Linked DNA regions of Homo sapiens: regions 1 and 2 are each linked to region 3. Evidence: promoter capture Hi-C in 16 types of primary human blood cells and fetal thymus (Javierre and others, 2016). All regions are on one chromosome and are shown on one strand. The core of a region is centred on a gene start or on the middle of the fragment in contact, and the rest is flanking DNA. Distances in the headings are between cores, read along the strand shown.

Region 1 (4,563 bases), core at 1,768-4,267, 190 kb after region 3:
AGCATCACACACCCTTCCCACCTCCCCATACAACTCCAGGGAAGACTTGCATCTCCCCTGCGGTGTACCCCTCAGAGACCACCTTCTGAAACCCCACTCTCAAAAAGAAACTCTTTGCTTTTCAAACAGCTTTAGTTGTGTGAACCCAAGCAACTACCCACACCCTGGCCTAGCAGGGAGCACTCCTGATTGTCTGGATTCCTGTGGTTCTGGGGGGCCAGGCCCCAAGGACAGCTCCACAGGCCTTTGGGGTTTTACTCAGCTCTAACCCCACAGGCTGCCTCTCTGCTAAGCCTCTTCTGAGCTGCTTCCGAGCCCCCATGAGGGTCTGTCCACAAGCACTTTCTGTGGGCCTGGGAGACTTGGTGGTGAAAAGAAATTCCTGGAAGGCAAAGGGCTCTGTAAGAAAACTCCTTTATCCTACTGACACCTTAATTTCTTCGTCTGTAAAGTGGAAATAATAACTTTTGCCTCAGAGTTATGGTGGTGACTATACAAGTTGTGGTGTGTAAAGCAAACTTAAAATAGCACCTGGCACATGCTTGAGACTCAGAGTGAGATCAAGATTTGTGTGATGATGCTGGTGATGAGGTTGATAATGAAGATGAAGATGATGGTGACCATGGTGGTAGTGATTATGTTAATGATGAAGGAAATGATGATCATAGCTTTGATTATGATGGTGTTGATGATGGTGATGGTGGTGGGGTGATGACGGTGATGGTGATGGTGGTGATGATGAGGAAGATGATGATTTAGGTGATGAGGGAGATGATGATGATGGCAATGATAGTGATGATGATACCATTGATGATGACGATGATGATGATGAGCCTCAAGGTCCCATCTAGACACAGTCATTACATGGGAGAACCAAAGAGCCCAGGAAAGGGCAGACATCAAGGGACCAGAAGACCCCAGAAGCTTCAGTTCTGGCTCCATCATCAACCAGCGTGACCTGGGACAAGTCACTTAACCTCTCAGGGCCTTGTTTTCTGCCTTGGCAACAGAGGGTAGACACTCTGTTCCCCACTCAAGTTCCTGGGCTAGGGAGGACCCCGGGAGATAAGGCATGGAACAGTGCTCAGGAGAGTCCTTCACAAACATGAGGCATTAACAAGAAAAAAAAAAAAAAACAGGAAGAGGCAGAAAGAAAACTCTTGAATGTCCCTCACGCCCTGGTCCTCTTAGGTGACCTCTCACACAGAGAAGCGGGCCTTGGGGAGTGAATAAGAAATACAGGACTTCCTGCGAGATAGCAAGTGAATTGTGAGCCGCGAATTACTTTTTTCCTTTGAAAAATGAGGTAGTCGGGTCAAAATATTTTTGCATTTCAAACACTTGAGTTCCTTTGTCCTTGGGGCGAGATGACTTGGTTTCCATGCAGCCTCACAATGCATGGAAACATCTTTTAGCTGCCAGACGGGGCTTCTGATAAGCCGCCAATTCATAGTGTGGGTTTGGAGAGCTGGAGACGGGGTGAGAAAGCTGAGGCCTTTGCAAAGTCTATTTACACAGTGGCGAGAGTCCCTTTCACCCTCTCCGGCAAACAGGCCCTGGAGCACAGGCATTGAACCCAGGGGGCCGGGTAGATGACCTGTACACACGGCATTGCCCACCAGCCCACGCACACACCAGACCCACCTAACTGGGTTCCTGGGGGAGACCTGCCCAGATACCCCTGGAGCCAGACCCCCAGGGACCTCCTCCACTCCTCCTGTGTCAGGGCAGCCTGCCTCCTGAAAGAACTGGCGTTCAGCCTGCCCCGCCCTCCGTCCTGGTCCCCACCCTCCATCCTGGCTCCGTTCAGAAACGTGCCCCAGGGACCAGGTTTGCTCAGTTGACAGGTTGTCTGGCCTGCAGCCTGTGCAGCTCCTGGTCCCATGGGCCATGAGGCAATAGGAAGAGAAAGGAAAGAGCTGTCATCCTACCCCCCACCCTGTCTCCTTTCCTTTTCTAAGCCACCTGCTCTGCTGCCCTTGGAGCTGAATGGAAGCTTCCAGTACAGGTACTTTCAGAGGGAAGGACTGAAAAATCAGTCGGCTTGTTTATTTGACTAATGCGCCCTCAGGCACTTGTGCTTTTAGCAAGTAGTACCCATTCTACAGGTGAAGAAATTGGGCACAGAGAGGTTCGGTAATCTGCCGAAGATCACACAGCAGTGAGGGGCATTGAACCCAGGTGCTCTGGCTCTGTGTGCTAAGCACAGACATGAGGCTCCTGTTTGATCCATTAACGTGCATTTGTGACCCAGTTGCGTCCCTGGACTCTGAAGACCAAGGGCTCCCTCCTTCCCCCAGGGACTCCACATTATTCTGGTAACATGGGAATCTGAGGGACAGCCCCACACTTGTGAGTCACCAGGAGTCCATCTGAAGGCAAAGCCAGCCAGCGGGAAAAATTCAACCAGACCGAGCAGGAGTCTTGCCCTGGGGCCCCCAAGGAACCGGCTTCATTCAAGAGCCTGGGATCCACAGTGTCACCCTTGGCGGGAGGCGTGGTTGGCCAGAGCCCCTCCCTCTGTGTCCCCCATCTCCTCCTGGTTGCAGGCTATTCCTGGCCACTCCTCTCCTCAAAACCAGATGATGAAGTTGGAGGGATGGGGTCCTTGCTGAGGGGTTTTGGGGAAGGGGTGCAGCTTGAAAAGAACCCACAGAGAAAAATCCCACAGGACACACATGTGCTCTTTAGTGGGGGAGGCAGTTCAGTGACGATGACAGCAGTAATGACAACACACAGAAAACATGAGGGTGTGCGAGCATGGGGTCCCAGGGACGACACCTGCGGGGTGCTGCCACGATGGTGCTGGGAGGTGCGGGGTGCAGTAATGACAACACACAGACAACACGAGGGTGTGCGCGCATGGGGTCCCAGGGAGGACACCTGCGGTGTGCTGCCGCGACGGTGCTGGGAGGTGCAGGTGACAGCCAAGCACTGGATCCTTGAGAGTGAGTGATTGTGCCTCCGGCAGGGCCATAGAGAGGGTCTGTTTCAGATGGAGGTGCCCCGGCGGATGAGGCATCGCAGGGGCACCAGCTCCTCTGGGCATGCAGCCTCTGGTTGGTGATGGCTCAGTGTGTACCCCAGGGGCTCCACAGACCCTGCAGCCTGCCTGGCGGCCCCTCCCACCCCGCACGGGTCTCAGGCACCAGCAGCCTCTTCCATTTCTGTCCTCAGTTGCTCTGAGTGCCCGGGGATGGGAAAGCCTGGCCTGAGAACACGGTGAGCTGAGGCTGAGGGCCGGGACACTGTGTCTAAGGCTCTCCCCGCCCCGCCCGGCTTTGTCAAAGGCCTCACCCCCAGGTGCAGAAATATGAGGGGTAGACCAGAATTCTGGGGCCATCCCAAGTAGACAGAGCGTGCCGCTCTCCCGTGGGGCCCCCCGCAGGCCTGCTCTAGATGAGACCACCTGTTGGTGGTGGGAACCCTGGGGGGCCTAACCCTGTCTAGTGGTCCCTGGGCATCTGTCCTGGTGGCCACTCACTGGGATCGCACTCACAGAGATCCCAGAAGAGCCCAGCCTGAATGCAGCCAACAGTGGCACAGGCTGCCAGAGTCCCTGAGCTCTTCCATCCCATGGGGAACTTTCCCCAAGGCACACGGCCCATATGTCCGGGCCACAGCTCTCTGCTGGCTCCTGCCCATGCTGCCCTGCAGATGCCAGACCTGACTGGGCTCCTCCAGGCCCTCACAGCCCTGACCACAACTCCAGGGAGGCTGCCTGGACGGCAAGATGGATACCAAAGGAGGTGTCTCATCTAATAGTTGGAACGTGAAGCCAGGAGAAGCCTTTGCCACCCATTAGAAAAGCGACCCCTGGGCAGGTGGCGCAGGTGGGGGTATGGCGGCACCATTCACTCACTCCTTTGTTTCTGTGGTTGCTGGGTCCTTCCTTCAGTCGACGCCTCTTGGAGCCTCCTGTACGGGCACTCGCCCTCTCTGTGACCCCCACTTCATCCGAGGGTTCCAGGGCTCAGGGAGGGGCAGGACTTTGCCCAAAGCTACTGTGCAGCTGAGCAGACTCCTGGCCATCTTCCACAAGCTTAGGGAGCATAGGTTTCCAAGGCCAAGGCTGTGAACAGTCAGGCCCTTCCCCAGAGCCCACCATCCCCTGGAAGAAGCGAATAAAAAGCAGAGAAATAGCAATGACACGAGCAGTTACAATAACAGGTGCTATGGAGTCCGAAAATGGGGCGCTGTGTGACCTGGGGCCTCTCTGCGGAGGGGCCTTAAGGGAGTCCATGAGGCTGAGCCGGAGCAGGATATGGAGCAGAGCTGAGCCTTCCAGGTGGAGGGAGCAGCATATCCAAGGACCCCGGGCCAGAAGGGAGGCAGGGGAGGGGTGTGGAGGGGCATCCGAGGACCCTGGGCCAGGAGGGGAGGAAAGGGGAGAGGCATAGAGGAGCATCCGAGGACCCTAGGCCAGGAGGAGAGGAAAGGGGAGAGGCATAGAGGAGCATCCGAGGACCCTAGGCCAGGAGGAGAGGAAAGGGGAGAGGCGCAGAGGGGCATCTGAGAACCCCGGGCCAGGAGGGAGGCAGGGGAGGGGCATGGAGGGACATC
Region 2 (4,644 bases), core at 1,715-4,214, 180 kb after region 3:
CCGCTGGGCAGAGTCCAGCTCCCCCCGACCTCTGCCTCCTGAGCTGGACTGTAAGCCCCCGGAGGGCAGGGACTGCACCTCGCTGTCTCTCACCTGTCCAGGACCAGGCACAACCTAGGCCAAGTTACGTCTAAATACACGTGGTGTGATTCGCCGGCGGAACTTGGAGGAAACACAAATAGAGTCTGTTCACCATCCAGGGTGTCCATGCGCTCCTCCCAGATGGTTCTCATAAATAATATGAATGGCTCACCTTGAGACGCCTTGACCTGGGTCCCCACCCAACCACTAAAGGGCCAGAGTGAGCTACACAGTGTGTCTCCATCCCTGGAGTGCAGTGTTTCCAGGGAGGTGAAGTCCCTGGGGGGCGCTTGGAGTCCTCGGTGACTGGGGGAGCCTCTGCTGGAAGAAGGGATACCTGTGATCAATGGAACCCTTCATTTCCTGCTGTGGAGAAGCCACTGGGTCCCACCCTGTGACTTTTGGGGACAGTGGTTCTGCCCCCACCATTTAGAACCCAGTGTAGCTTGAGAATGTTTTATCAGAAACTAACAACCCCTCTCAAAATTGTTTTGCAGCAAATACTGACGGACGTGGAAGTGTCGCCCCAGGAAGGCTGCATCACAAAGGTAGGAGAGCTCGCCCTGCGCCGTCTCAGCTCCCCAGCGTCCTCGGAGCTCCTGGCGGGGCGACCGCCATCCCAGCTGTCCCTGAGCTAACAAGCGTGTAGTCGGAATGTTGCTGGCAGGCCCCGAGCAATGTGTTATCTGTGGACTGACGTGTGCACAGGACGGTGGCTTTGCTGTCATTAGGAGGGATGGGGAGGTGGGGGTCATGTCGCCGTAGGGTCACAGGTACAGGGCCATCCGCCACTCTCCTAACTCCCGAGAGTGGAGGAGAGCCCTGTACCTGTGGGAAAGCTTCAGGCCACGCAGACAGGAAAATTAAATAAACGCAGGTTGTGTTTATTTAACTGTCTTTGCTGGATACTCTCATGAAAAGAATATGGGGAAGAATTGGCTGCAGATTCAACAAAGCCTTTGCTGCACTCGTAGCTTCCAAAGAAGCATCGTTTTAAATAAGCAAAACCACGAGGCGAGAGAAAAAGGGTCCACGTGGCATTATCCACGGCTTTGCTGACTGGTGGTGGATAACGGCTGGTGGACAAACATTAGGTCTAACAGATCCAGAGGGAGAACCATGTGCAGAGAAACACACAGGCCCTGGGGAGGCACACACATAGTCACATGTGTGCCTGGGTGTGCACACTGCAGTCCAGACGGCCAGGAGGAGGAATGGCCTGGAAAGCAGCTCCGAAACCTAGAACCTGTTCAGCAGCCAGAACTCCTCTTCGACGGGATATGCATTGCCTGCACGCACACACAGACGTCCACAGACACAGCACGCTCACACGTGGTGGCTGATCTCCTATTTTTTGGGGGGGGGTTTCTAGTAAAATTAAAGTAACAGTCTCTCGCTTGGCATCTTTGCTTTAAAGCAAGATAAAATTTAGAGAGAGTCACATTTACACATCCCCACCCAGACAGCATCGCAGGGGGCGGGGTGGGGCGGGGTGCACCATGGGGGTTGCTGGCACAGAGGAGCCAGTGCTGAGTCAGTGCCTACCGAGTGCTGTTACAATTCTGTCAGAATTACAACTGGATTCCGTGACGCAGCATATGGGCTTGAGGGGTACTGGCAGCCTTGTGGTTAGGAAGCTGAGCTGAGTGTTCAAGTCATCAATACTCCATTTTTCCCCCAAAGTCAAAGGAAAGTGCTGTGCTAGTCCTGCCAAACTCCCAGTCTCTGAGCCGAGGCATTTGGGCAGAGCTGCCTACGAGGGACAGGGGACCCACCATCTGGGCAGAGCTATCCGCAAAGCACAGGGGGACCTGACCCTTCTCTCCAGGTTCAACCCCAGATACATTGATTTTGGAGAAAGCATGGCAATGGAGACTTTTGCTGGGCCCGCAGTGACCCGCTGAAGGGCCTCCGGAAACTGGGTGAACTGGTTCCCGTGTCCCTCCCCGTCGCTGGTGTGGCTGTGTCTGGCCTCCTGGGGTCCTTTTGTCCAAGGACAAGGTGTCGGCTCTCAGTCCCCGCCGTCCACAGGATGCCTGAGGTCTTCCTGCACCCACGTTTGACTGGAGCAAATGGAGCAAATTCCAGGGCTGGTCTTTTCCACTTTCCCTCTTTCTCCTTTCCTGCCTCTTTAAATGAGTTCACATTTTCTTAAAGGACATAGAGGAGCAGGAAACAGTTAGCAGCGCTGCTGTATTTCCGAGAACTGCAGTATTTTCACTTCCCACAAAAAGTGACCTGCAGTTAGTGCGAATCCCTCAAGTTCTCGAGGGAGCCTGAAATCACTGGGTTTTCCACCCCGATGCGTCCCTGGACCGTCTGACATTTTCAAGACGCCCTCCTTGGCTGCGCCTCTCCTGAATGCCTCATGGAGGTGGCCTGGCAGGAGGTTAGAAGGGGATCAGTTTATGCTGGGAGGGGTTGCTTGGTCTAGGAACAGGGGTCAAGTCAGAAGGTCAAAAGGTCAAGTCTAGATTTAAAGGGCCCGGGGGAGGCAAGTGCTGGCTGCTTCTGAACCAGAACGAACTAGGACAGAAGGAGGGTGAAGTGGGCGCCGCCTTCTGTGCCTCTGGGCCACGGTGGGTTTGCCTTTGTGTCTTATATGTGTGGCCATTAGGTCTCGCTCAGTGTGGCCCAAGGTCATTCTTGAGAGCGGCTCCCGGGGTGGGCATGAGATGCTGTCCAGCCAGGGGCCTACTTCCAAGTGCCCAGGGCAGCAGGCATCCCTCTGACGCAGGCCCTTGGAAAGCAGGTTGAGAACCTTGGGTCGGGCTGAGGAGTCTCAGGTTCCGCCATCCCACGGAATCAGAGCAGACCCGATGCACGAGACCCCCCACGGCACCGCCGCGACTGCAGGGAGCTCAGCGCAGGGTACCAGAGCCAGCATCGGGGGCGTTGGTGGGCGGTCCTGTCCAAGCAGGCCTCCTGACCCCAGCCCAGGGCTCCTCCCTGCCGCTGCCCTGCAGGCCCAGTCCGAGGGGCTGGGGGCTGCCTGGAGGAGGCACCCAAGTCCTCAGGCACAGCTCCACCAGAGGGGGAGGCTGCCACACAGCACTGCCTGGGCCATCAACTCATAGTTTTTTCAGCCTCCGCAATAAACACCGTCAGCGTCTGGAGGATTCGAGTGTTTGCCAAGGCCATGCTGGTGGGAGAATCAGATCCCTAACCCCAGGGCTCAGACTGGACCCGTTCAGTTACATTTCTAGGCACTCTCGGGGAGCCGGGGGGGTTGGGGCTGAGAGACTGAGAGACATGAGCTAAAATTCAAAGGCAAAGTCTTCAGACTCGGGGGCCAGGAAGACCAGGACAGACAGCCCTCGAGTGGGCGTCAGTCCAGACGGAGACCCCACCCTGCAAACAAATGCGCCACTTAGAGCTGTTGGTATAGGTGCGATGTGTGGATTGCTGCCGTAACTGTGCGCACCGCGGTGCTGTTTTCAGGATGAATTCAGTACAGTCCTTCCTTATAGGATGAGAACTCTGGTTTAGGGGTTTTGTAGTTTGGGTCACCCAAAGGCACACTTGGGAACATTAAAAACCTCATAGGGGAACATGACGGGGGTGGCTGTGTGACCTGTGGGTGGGCAACTCCTGTGTCTGGCTTCAGTTCATCCACCTCTGGGAGGATTACACTTCCTGTTCTTTATCTGCCTCAGTGAAATGTGACGAAGTTAATTAATTCAATCAGCAGCTTGGCATATGAGCTGCAGAAAAGGTGGTATTTTGTGAGGAAGCCACGGTTAGGAATTCTAAGTATCAGAGAGTGAGGTTTCTGAAGAGGCTGGATGCAGGATGACTCTACTCAGAATTTACAGGCGAGGGCGGCCGGGCCGAGGGTTGTATGGAGGCCTGGGATTCGAACTCAGGACTGTGGCGCGGGGCCTGGCTCCTGTGGGCGCTACAGAGGTGCCTCCCGTTAGCCCCGCCCCCACCCCAGGAGGGCGGAGCCACCGCCAGGCGCAGGGGACGGTCCTCCTCCGTCCTTCCTGCGCCCCTTCAGCTTCGCCCTGGACTCCCGCGTTCCCTCTGTCTCACACCCTGGTCTCTGCGCCTTCGTTCACTCCGCAGCCCTTGCGCCCGCGCAGCCCAGAGCTTTGGCGCTGGCCCGCGCTCGCTCTGGTGCGCTCGCCCTGGTGCCCTATGCGTGCCCTCGCCGTCCCTGCGCCCGTCCTGGTGCGCCCTGGGCGCGCGTCACCGGCGCTTCCCAAAAAGTCACATTGGCTGTGGGTCGGGCTGCGTCGCGCCTTTCCTGGCCGCGGTGCGGGGACCTCTGGGACCGCTCCCTCCAGCGGACTCTCTATTTAGTCTCTGTTTACTTAGAGGGAAAGCCCGGGGGCTCCTGGAGAGCAAACATCTGCGGGAGATAATCTAGCGAGTTGTCCATCCATCACTCCGGGCGCGCAGCTCCCTGGAGAGCCCGCCGGAGCCGGTAATAAAAAGGCCGGGCGAAGAGGCTTTGGGGACGAATCAAGAGCCGTGTTAAGGGCTCGCTGAAAATGGATGGAAGACATTATTAAGGCTCAATGGCCATCTTATCAAAATCCAATAGGATAGACATTTGGC
Region 3 (4,741 bases), core at 1,061-3,560:
AGTAACTTCCCCAGGCCTCCTCCCAAACCTGCAGAGGCTTCAGGCAGGAGCAAGGGGGACCTGGGTGCAGAGATATGGGAGTGACCTTGAGTCCTTTCTAGCCAGCAGCTCCAGCCAGGTTGGGCCCACCGTTGGGAACCTGCCCTTGGCGGGGTTTAGGCAAGACAGCGCCCGTGTTCCTGGGCTCCAGCACCTCCCACCCACTGGGGCGAGCAGGTTCAGAACCGGCCTTGGCGGTGCAAAGCTGCAGCGGTGCCCTAGTTGGCTAGGCAGATCAAGACCTCCAGAGCCGGGCCTGTAAACTGAGCTGTTCTCTGCCCCAACCCCTGTAGAAAGATGGTCAGGGTGTGGGGAGGGTGGGTAAAGGGGTCGATAGACCCTCGAAAGGACGGCAGGGAATGGGGCTGTGCCATTGCTCATGGCCCTTCTCTAGGCGACACTCACCTGGTGCCAGAAACAGCAGAGGTAGCGGCCAGTGAGCGCTTCCTCCATCCGGGGCTCGGGCGGCGAGCTGGCTGCAAGACTGGGCACCCTGGAGCCGTGGGAGCCTTGGGAGCCGAATCTGGGTTCGAATCTGAGCAGGGAAGCGGTGCCGACCGCGGAGGATCCAAGGCAGAAGGCCCAGCGCACCGCCGCCGCCAGCTCCTGCCCAACCCGGCTCCGCTGGGCTTTTCCTCTGGGGTGGCGCCGGCCCCGCGCCCCTCCCCATCCGGGGCGCCTCTGCTAGGACACCGGGGTCTCGGGGTTTCTCAGGGCTGCTGCGTTTCACCTCCTTTAACGCGGAGGCGCGGAGTTGCACGTGTGGGTCTCAGTGGAGCCGCCACAGGTCTTATTACACAACAAAGGGCAGGGAGGGCAAGGCCAGGAGCCTCGCGGGGCGGCGCAGAGACCCCGCATCGCGGGCGCGACCCCTGCCTCGGGCTCAGGCTGACTCTGCGGCAGCTCCAAGTCCCGTTGCCGGGCAGGACTTCGGTGCTCCGGAAGGGTGCGGGGCAGCAACCTGGCCAGGGCAGCGCCTCGGTTTCCTTCCAATTCATTCTCGATTCCCAGATACTCAGATGAGAAATCCGCACTCAGGCCGTCAGGCTCCTGGGCCCGGGCCACCCTGCCTGCGCTCAGCCCGGCCCCTCCGCCGCAGCGCCTCGGAGTTTGGGGGCTACAGGGGAAGAGGAAGCGTCTGGTCGGCTCCCGTCCGAGCTGCTCCACCTGCGCCGCTGGCCTTTCCGCCCGCTACGCACCTGGGCCCCGAGAGGCCAGAGGGGAGTGTCCCCAGTGGCCCGGGTCCCCGAAGGTGGCCCAGCTCGGGCGCTCGCGCAGCCGGGTACTCACCTTGGGGGCGCGGCGGCAGGAGAGCGCGGGCGGAGAGGTGCGGGCGCCCTGGGACGACCAGCCGAGGACGCCTGGTGTTTGGACGGCTGCCCCCGCGCTGTCCCCCCGTGCGAGGCGTGTTGGCCTCCGTGGCCTCGCGAGGGACCGAGGGCGGCGGGTCCGAGTGCCGCCCGCCGGCCTGGGCAGTGGCGGAGCGCGGAGCTGGCGGCGCCTCCGCTGTTGTTTTTGAGCCGCGAAGCCCGAAGCAGCAGCCGTTGGGTGGGGGCGAAGGGGAGGAGGCGGGGGCCGGGAGGCGCGAGGGGGGCGGTGGGGCCCGGAGGGGGCTTCGGAGGAGCCGGGTTCTGGCGCGCGAGCCCCGACGCCCCCTCCAGCGATCGCAGGGCGGGGACGGGGGCCGAGGGGAGAATGCAGGAGAAAAGCGGGCCGGGGCGACGGGGAACGCAAAGCTTTTAAATTAGTAATCAAACGCAGTAAAACGGAGCAAAACCAGCCCGGACTCGCGTCCGAACTATCGGCGCGTGTGCCCCGAGATCCAAGGAAGTCGTGTGGAAAACCGCAGCCGCCGCCCCATCTTCGGCCCCGGCTGGGGCGGGAGCAGCAGCGCGACGCGCCGCGACGCAGGGGCAGGGTGGGGGGATAGTCACCTCGCCTCCGGGGCCACCTGGGTCCTTTTAAAGTGTCCGGGGTGCGGGCCCCGGGCGGGAGCGCCGAACACGGAATGTTTTCTTAAAGGGCCAGTTCCGAGCTGCGCTGAAAAGGGGGGGGGGGAGAGGGGGGAGAGATAAGTGAGACGAAGACCGAGAAGGCCGAGGAGAGCCCCCCAATCCCGCGCCGAGGCGGCGGCGGCGGCGGCGGCGGCGCGACGATGAGGATGATGAATACATTGCAAAGTTTTTTTGGCCCCGGCGAGGGGTGTCAGATTGAGTGCTCTGTGCGCATGTGCGAAGGTGTCCAAACTGACAATGCTGGGGAGATGAAGATAGTGTGTGGCTGCTTCTGGACTCAAGGAGGAGGAGAGAGATTCCGCGAGCCGACACCATGCGATCCAAGGCGAGGGCGAGGAAGCTAGCCAAAAGTAAGTCTCCCGCGCTCGGCCGCGCCGCGCCGCCGGGGCCCGGGCCGCCGGGCCGGGGCGCCCGGGCCAGGGGTGCGCGTCGGGGCGCGGCCGGCGCGCCTGCGGCTCCGGGCCCCCGGCTCGGCCGCGCGGCCCGGGGGGCTGCTCCGCCTCCCGCGCTCCGGGGCGACCGGGCTCGGCGCGGAGGCTCGGGGCGCCCGGGCCGCGCGCTCCCCGAAGGCGCCGGCCCCCTCCCCGCGGAACCCCCTCCCCCCCCACCAGTGTCAGGCGCTCGGGCCCGGGAACCCGAGGCGCGCGGTGGGGGCCGGGGAGGGGGGCGGAGGGGGAGGGCCGGGGGTGGAGGGGAGCGAAAAGTGAAAGTTAGCGAAAAGTTGACGAAAGGGGAGAGCAACTTTTTCCTCCCCGCTCGCTCTCTCCCTCTCTCTCTCCGAGTGGCTCTCAGTCCTGGTCAAATCATATTCCGGGCTTTTGAAATAGTGGGCGCTAGAGCACCGCCTTTGGCGTCCGCCAGCCGGGCGCAGAGGAGGGAGACCCCGAGCCGGGGAGGGGCGGAGGAGGGGGCGCGGGCCGGCGCCCACCCGGCTCCGCGGGCGCAGGGGCAGGGGTGGCGACGGCGGGACAGCCGCAGCCACTTGGGGAGCAAAATGGAGACTTTTGCCCGGGCTGGGAACTGTGGTCGTGAAGTTTATCCCCGGCTGTGCCCCGCGTGGTGGAGGGCGCTCCTCTGGGACGCCGGCAGCCTGCGCGGGCCGCCGGGGCGACAGTGCCTCCGACAGGAGGGACCCACCCGGCCACCTCCCGACCCGCCGCTGCCGCCCTCGGGCCCGCGTGGACCCCTCTGTACCCGCTTGCCTGGCACAGCCGGGCCCGGCGGGGACAGAGCTGCCCCGGCCAGGCTGCCCGGTCCTCGGTCTTACTTTCTCTTTCGCTCCGTCTCGGCCGAGCCCCGGGCTCCGCGCGCCCCGCCTGCCGCCAGCCGGTCCTTGCCGCGGGCCGGGTGCTCCAGCCACCCGCGCCCTCGCCCGCCACAGCGCCTCCGAGCAGCCCGCGCGCACCCCGCAGCCCCGGTCGCCGGCGCCATCCGCGGTGAGGCGGGCGGGCAGGTGAGGACAGGCGGAGCCGCGGCCCGGCCAGCGCGGCTCCCGCAGCCCCGCCGAAGCCCCGGCTGCAGCGAAGCGGCCAGCGCCGCGCGGAGCGGAATCGGCGCCGCCTGCTCCCGCCGCCCCCTCCTCTGCAGGCCGCCCGCCCGCCCACCCGCAGAAGAGGCGCCCGGGCCGCTCCCCTCGAGGTCCCCGCCCGACCCACGCCGTTCCGTCCGCGCCTCCGGGGCCGGGTCCCTCCAGGCCGGCCTCGCAGCTCCCGGGGCCGAGCCCCCAAACGTGAGCCGGGTGCGCGCGGGACTCGCGGCGGTTTTCCGAAGCTCCGCTCCCTCGGCTCGGGGCCCGCCCGGCTCGTCCCAACAGCTGCCCCGCGGCCGTAGGCCCCGCGCTCTGTGCACCAGGGAAAAGCAGCTCCCGAGTTTGTGCCGGACGCTCCTGCGCCCCGCCATCGGCCGTTCCCGGCCCCTGGGTGAGGCGCCCCCTTCCCGCCGCGCTCCGCTGCCGGGTGCCCTCGGCCTCGGCCTCCCGTGACCTCTGACCCCTCTTGGTGCGAACAAGACCGGGCGTTTCGCCGCCGACGCGAAGGGGCTGTCTGTGCGCGGCGTTGCGGGCCCTCCGCGCGTGGGGTGTGCGTGTGCGTGTTCGGGTTCGGTTCTGTGTGTGCACCGCGGGCCTGCTCAGAGTCGGGACCACCGGGCTGCGTGTGGGCCGCCAGGTCAGGCCCTCGCCCAGGATGGGCCCTAAGCTGGAACGAGAAAGGGGAAACCGGCCGCGCTGACGCCGGGGCCTTCGCTGCAAGCGAGAGGCGGACTCGGCGCACCCGCGCGGCCCTGGAAACTTCCGAGAGGCCCCAGCTCTCCGCCGGCTCCACCTCTGCCAGGTGGGGAAGGTGGCCCGGGACCGGGTCCGCTCAGGACCAGAAGTGGTGCCTGGCAGCCATCTGGCCAGGAGGCCGGAGAGCCGGGCCCAGCGGGAGCGCCGAGCGCTGGCTTCCTTTTCCCGAGAGTCTTTAGTGAGGAAAAACCCCATGAGAGGTGACTGCCAGGCCTCGGCCCTCTGTCCACACTTGGCCGAGCGCTGGGAACCCCTCCTTCCAGGCTCCACAGCTGGGACCGCTTGTCCCAGGCCCCCCAAGGTGGCTGAGGCAGGTTCAGGATCACACTGCCTGCCCTGAGCAAGAAGGCAGGATCCGCTGAAGAATTTCATTTCATCAGGCGATATTTTAAGCAGATGTGAA

Evidence for each region. The method cuts DNA at HindIII sites, captures the fragments that hold promoters and counts their contacts. A CHiCAGO score of 5 or more calls a contact.
Region 1: a contact is called between a fragment that was not itself captured here and the fragment with the promoter of PRDM16 in region 3, in 1 of 17 cell types (megakaryocytes). The highest score is 7.4, in megakaryocytes.
Region 2: a fragment that was not itself captured here is called in contact with the fragment with the promoter of PRDM16 in region 3 in 1 of 17 cell types (megakaryocytes); the score reaches 5.0 in megakaryocytes.

Annotation. Positions count from the first base shown.
Region 1 is chr1:3,260,007-3,264,569 of GRCh38, forward strand. The region is part of intron 3 of PRDM16 (PR/SET domain 16); the gene reads left to right. Among named protein-coding and RNA genes, the nearest start is that of MIR4251, 130 kb to the left of the region's middle. The HindIII fragment of the contact is 2,046 bases long and covers 1,995-4,040 here.
Region 2 is chr1:3,243,509-3,248,152 of GRCh38, forward strand. It overlaps PRDM16 (PR/SET domain 16), which reads left to right. Exons shown (of 17, transcript NM_022114.4): 3 at 579-629. Among named protein-coding and RNA genes, the nearest start is that of MIR4251, 120 kb to the left of the region's middle. The HindIII fragment of the contact is 4,092 bases long and covers 919-4,644 here.
Region 3 is chr1:3,066,893-3,071,633 of GRCh38, forward strand. PRDM16 (PR/SET domain 16) reads left to right here and starts at 2,311. Exons shown (of 17, transcript NM_022114.4): 1 at 2,311-2,404. The coding sequence starts at 2,368. It overlaps LOC124903827 (translation initiation factor IF-2), which reads right to left. Exons shown (of 5, transcript XM_047436614.1): 1 at 3,322-4,741; 2 at 1,330-2,079; 3 at 445-1,156. The coding sequence ends at 2,056. PRDM16-DT (PRDM16 divergent transcript) reads right to left here and starts at 833. Exons shown (of 6, transcript NR_015440.1): 1 at 445-833. It also overlaps the pseudogene LOC100420339. RefSeq lists an enhancer at 630-1,204. The HindIII fragment of the contact is 3,548 bases long and covers 1,774-4,741 here.